Linked DNA regions of Homo sapiens: region 1 is linked to region 2. The links are contacts of gene promoters, found by promoter capture Hi-C in blood cells and fetal thymus (Javierre and others, 2016). All regions are on one chromosome and are shown on one strand. Each heading gives the region's core, a stretch centred on a gene start or on the middle of the fragment in contact. The rest is flanking DNA. Distances are from core to core; before and after follow the strand shown. Region 1 has its middle 25 kb from the start of GIMAP4. Region 2 holds the start of GIMAP1 (GTPase, IMAP family member 1).

Evidence for each region. Contacts are between HindIII fragments. The CHiCAGO score rates a contact against its expected background, and 5 or more counts as called.
Region 1: a contact is called between a fragment that was not itself captured here and the fragment with the promoter of GIMAP1 in region 2, in 7 of 17 cell types (total CD8 T cells, non-activated CD4 T cells, naive CD8 T cells and 4 more). The highest score is 15.6, in total CD8 T cells.

Annotation. Positions count from the first base shown.
Region 1 is chr7:150,541,094-150,543,793 of GRCh38, reverse strand. It overlaps the pseudogene ALDH7A1P3. Among named protein-coding and RNA genes, the nearest start is that of GIMAP4, 25 kb to the left of the region's middle. The HindIII fragment of the contact is 2,016 bases long and covers 375-2,390 here.
Region 2 is chr7:150,715,166-150,718,066 of GRCh38, reverse strand. GIMAP1 (GTPase, IMAP family member 1) reads right to left here and starts at 1,454. Exons shown (of 3, transcript NM_130759.4): 1 at 1,377-1,454. GIMAP1-GIMAP5 (GIMAP1-GIMAP5 readthrough) reads right to left here and starts at 1,454. Exons shown (of 5, transcript NM_001303630.2): 1 at 1,377-1,454. The HindIII fragment of the contact is 9,233 bases long and covers 831-2,901 here.

The DNA of each region.
Region 1 (2,700 bases), core at 133-2,632, 170 kb after region 2:
TGTCAAATTCATTCTCAGTCTTGGTTTGTTCCCTTGCTGGTGAGGAGTTGTGCTCCTTTGGAGGAGAAAAGGCATTCTGGTTTTTGGAGTTTTCAGCTTTTTTGCACTAGTTTTTCCTCATCTTGGTGGATTTATCTACCTTTGGTCTTTGCTGTTGGTAACCTTTGGATGGGGTTTTTGCATGGTTGTTTTCTTGTTGTTGATGTTGATGCTATTGCTTACTGTTTGTTAGTTTTCCTTCTAACAGTGAGGCTCCTCTGCTGCAGGTCTGCAGGAGTTTGTTGGAGGTCCACTCCAGACCCTGTTTGCCTGAGTATTACCACTGAGGGTTGCAGAACAGCAAAGATTGCTGCCTGCTCCTTCCTCTGGAAGCTTCATCCCAGAGGGGCACCCAACAGATGCCAGCCAGAGCCCTCCTGTATGAGGTGTCTGTCAACCCCTGATGAGAGATGTCTCCCCATCAGGAGGCACGGGGTTCAGGGACCCACTTGAGAAGGTAGTCTGTCCCTTAGCAGAGCTCGAGCACTGTGCTGGGAGATCTGCTGCTCTCTTTAGAGCTGGCAGGCAGGAATATTTAAGTCTGCTGAAGCTGTACACACAGCCACCCCTCCCCGCAAGTGCTCTGTCCCAGGGAGATGGGAGATTTATCTATAAGCCCCTGACTGGGGCTGCTGCTTTTCTTTCAGAGATGCTCTGCCTAGAGAAGACGAATCTAGAGAGGCAGTCTGGCTACAGCAGCTTTGAGGCACTGCAGTGGGCTCTGCCCAGTCCAAACTTCCCAGTGGCTTTGTTCATATTGTGAGGGGAAAACTGCCCTCTCAAGCCTCAGTAATGGTGGACCCATAATTTTCTTCATGATGTTTTTATTTTGCTTCCTAATTCAATAAGATTTTTTTTCATTCTGTCAGAGACATTTTCTTTTGATTGTACTACTCAAAATTAACAATGTTATTCATCTCTCATTGTTTACTTTTTCTAAGAAAACCAGAATAATGGTATCCTGAAAACTAGAAATAACTCAACAAAGCCTGCAAATCTCCTTCCTCTAAAATCCCATTGGGGCAAAGCACTGTTCTGTTAGCAATATACCCTTCCTCTAGGCCCAGGGACTACCAGGGAAGAGGTGGATGCATGAGATTGTAAGGGCCAGTTTTAAGGGGTTCAGATCCCCAAAATCAAGGGCAGGCACACACACATGCTTATACAGGGGGTAAATTGATGGACTTTGTCTCCTGAGCCATTATATGCCCCCTTTCCATCTTTCTCAATCATGAAAAAAAATTTCTACTTTAATATAAGAGCCCAAACCCAAAGGCTTGGCCACATTCTGGGACCCATGTGTATTTACAATTAAATGTAAAACAGTTTTATTCCTCAAACCTAGACCAATTCCCCTTGTCAGCAAACAGTAGCTAGAATTGCCATTGCCCCATATCCCTCAAGATTGAGGAATGCACAACAGAAAGGGAGTTGATATAGTTTGAATATGTGTTGCTGCCAAATTTCATGTTGAATTGTGATCCCCAGTGTTGGAGGTGGGGTCTTGGGGGAGGTGTTTGGGTCATAAGGGCAGACTCTCATGTCATAGTGCATTCTTTTGAGATCCAGTTGTTTAAATGTGTGGAACCTTCCCTACCCATTCTCTCTCTCTTGTTCCTGCTCTGCCATGTGATGTGTCTGTTCCTGCTTCTATACACAGAGACTTTTGCTCCAATTCTCTATGTTTTTAAATTTAAGAATGAAGAAGAGCTCTTTGTGTGAAATAATGAAGTAAAACAGGGTATTTCAAGTAGCATCTTTACCAAAGATTTGGGCAGAATCTTCCACTGGCTTGGACCTAAAAGATCTAACTGTGGCATTGTAAATGTCAATATTCCAATGAGCGGAGCTGAGATTGCAGGTGCATTTGGAGGAGAAAAGCACATTTGTGGTGGCAGGGCATCTGGTGATGACTCCTGGAAATAGTGCATGAGAAGGTTTACTTGTATCATCAACTATGGTAAGGATCTTCCTCTGGTGAAAGGAATCAAGTTTCAGTAAAGTTTTATGGACGAACATTGCTTAATTTTAGGTGTTCCTGCAGCTGTTTCTGAAGAAGAAAAAAAAAATTAAAATTTTCCCTGAATAAATGCATCATTATGACTATGACAGTGACTAATGTCTTATGACCCCAAAGCCCTGATTAAATCAACAGACTCATTTTTTAAAAAATCAAAACAAAATTGTCACATTAAAAAATGGTATTGATGAATAGAGCCCTGCTATAAAAATACTTGAAAATGTGGAAGCAGCTTTGGAACTGGGTAACAGGCAGAGGTTGGAAGAGTTTGTGGAGGCCTCCATGTGGTATTAAGCCCACAGGCATACAGAATGCAAGAGTGAAGGAAGCTTGGCAGCCTCCACCAAGATTTCAGAGGATGTATGAGAAAGCCTGGGTGCCCAGAAAGAAGCCTGTTGCAGGGGCAGAGCCCTCACAGAGAACCTTTAATAGCAGGGTTTGGAGGGGAAATGAGTTAGAAGCCCCACACAGAATCCCTACTGGGGCACTGCCTAGTGGAGTTAAAGCTCCCTGAGGCCTCCCTAGAAGCTGAGCTGATGCCAGCACTATGCTTGTACAGCCTGCAGAACCATGATCTGATTAAACCTATTTTCTTTACAAATTACCCAGTCTCAGGTAATTCTTTATCACAATGTAAGAAC
Region 2 (2,901 bases), core at 205-2,704:
TGATCCTCCCCGACCATCTGTCTGTGCCTCACCATCCATGTCAAACTTGTTGTGTCTTGCACCCTGGTCACTTGGATACCTGTGTTCTCTCCCATTGGCACCACACATGAAGGAGGGGCAGAGAGAGAGGCTGGCTGAGTAACTTGTCTTTGATTGAAGGACTTGGAGAACAGATTTGCCTCATATTAAATCTAGAGCTGTTTCTGTTTCTGCAGGAACTCTACTGGCCCTCCCCAAAGCCTTCAATAAAATTCACTCCATGGGCCTTATGTGATTAATTATTTTGCATGTAGGAATGAACAGATGATCATAAATGACATCAAAGCAGAAATGAAGAAACAGTTGCAAGATTCAGAGAAAAGAATTTAGATGAAGCAAAATGTCCTTGTCAACCAAGAAAATGAGAATTTCTTTTTCCAGTGCTGCAGAATTCTGGATAGGCCTTTGGAATTTTCCATAGTTTAGAAGAGGGGTTGAAATGATTTTAAATAGTTTTTTTTTTTAAAGGAAAGTAAGACCCAGCTGAACTCTGAGGTGACAAATGGCCCTTAATCATTGAGGAATGTACACTTATAGAATCCTGTATTCCTAACACTTTAAGAGACCGCAAAGTTTATTGAGTTCTTCACCGCTCAAATGTGCTGCTTCTCAGAATTACTTGAATGTTCTTTAAAAATGTACATCTCTTGGATCCATCCTGAGATTCTGATTCATGAATTAAATGTTTCTGATGTCCACAGCTCAGAACTTGGACATCAGTCATTTTTGCAACCCCCTTTATTGTACAGATGGGAATTTGAGGTGTCCCCGTGGCTGGAGCAGGAGAAGCTTGAATTAAGGGAGCAGATGTTTAAGGGGCCATGCAGGGAAAGGGGTTGAAGACCAAGATATTAATCTCAGATGTCTCCTCAGGGGCCCCTTCTGTGGACAGTGAGGAGGAGAGTTCAAATGTACCCAGTCTTGTCACGTCGTAACTCACTCCGAGGTTAGATGGCTTATGGGGCCATAGAAATATCTTTTGCCTTTGCTCAATAGGGAGCTTGAGGAATGTTTAATGCCTTTCAAACTGTATTTTATTCCTGGAGGTGGTTCCAGCACACTCTTTTCTTACTTTGTTAAGGGAATGTGGGAGGAGACAGATTTCACTCCCCACCAAGAACGTGTGTGCTCCAGAGCTGGAGAAGATGATCCTAAAATTTCCTCTGAACTTTGCCTACTTAAAAACCTGGAAGTATGTCCTTGATTGTTCCAGATCTTGCTCGCCTGCATGATGCCTTGTAGAATGCAAGTGTTCAGGCAGTAAACACTCTAGGAATCATGTTCTTTCTGGTTCTCAGAGCACCCCCAGCCCCCGCCACTCCCAGGCTCAGGCTCACCTTTCCTGGTGACAGGCTCTGAAGTTGGCCACAAGAAGCCCCAACCTGCTGCTTTCCCTTCGGCTGTGAGTGCAGAAGGCTGTTTCCTCTCGGCACACGGAGGAAATCACTCAGACTTCAGAAATCAGGAAGCTCAGGGTGGGCCCCATGGTTATGGTTTAAAGAGACAGAAACATTTCCCATTGAGCTGTGGGTTGGCAATACTTCTCCTACCGACTCTACTTTCTGCTGTGACTGAGGTTATGTGTCTCCAGCAGGGCCTCATGATGTCAAATATCTTGCCATGCTCTAAGAAGGGAGGGATGTTGTAGTCTCTGAGGCCTGACTGTACTTCTAAAATTGATTACTGAGCTAATCTTCAGTTGCCTTTGCCCTATAGGGACATTTCCCCATATAAAATAGGCCCAGAGAGTCTCCTGCCCCGGAACAAATAACGTAATAGCTGTTCTCATCATCTGTCCATTAATTAGACATTCATGTGGCCAGTGCCAGCCCCAGATCCAGTCTGCCAGAAAAACCTGAAGGCAAAGTCTTATCATTCTCTGAGAGAGGAGGGCTTTCCCAGCTATTGAAGGACTTGAGGGTGAACTGGTATGTTGAGGATGAACACCTTCGCACTATCTTCAATTTAGCCTTATTAGGAGGCTTTAGTCTAGTCGTCTATGTTGGTATCACCAGTTCTAGTTATTCTATCTTCTCTCAAGAGCATCATGAGGTCAGCAAAAAAGCGAATCACTGGGTGGTAAGAAGGCTACAGAGGAGCAGGCTGCATATCTGGTTAGGTCATTAACCAGCTATAGGACCTCACCTAACTCATTTAAACTTTCTGGAGTTGGCTTTCTGGAGTATATGGGGAAGACAATAACCCGAGTCTTACCCTACTGGATAGGATCTGCTTTTTAACCTCTTTCATGCCAGACCACTTTTTTTCTGGTAGGGAAGAGACCCAGCTTTTACTGTTTCCCATCTTTTTGGGGGCACAGAGTCTCCTGGATATCTGACATGTCCACTGTTTCCATTCATCATTGCTGAAACAGGGAGCCTGTCATTCTCCCAGTAGACCGGCAGGGCTGGGGCTATTGTGAGGCAGGTGGGGCATCTAGAGCACACAGCTTAAGGAGGCACTCACTCTCAGGTCACCCAAGTGCAGATCTTGTAGGTGGGTGACCCTGGGAGTGAGTGTTTTCTTAAGAGTGAGGTGCCTAGGGCTTCTCACTAGCCTCATCCTAGCCCAAGCCACATAGATCAGCTTTGAATAAGTCTTTGATACTTGACGTGTACCTTTCATAAAGACGCTTTCAGAGCCTCTTCAACAGCTCCGGGCCATTTATTGTTTCCATGCATGTGTATGATGTCTTACTTCAGCCACTCATAACTCTCTGTCAGAGGGTTTATCTGACTACAAAAGTATATGTAGGTAATGCATGCAGCAGCCTGAAGTTGTCAGAGCTGATATCCTAGGAGCAGATTTCAATCAATGTCAGTTAGGACTTATGGATAAACACCACAACTTATCAAGTTGTCC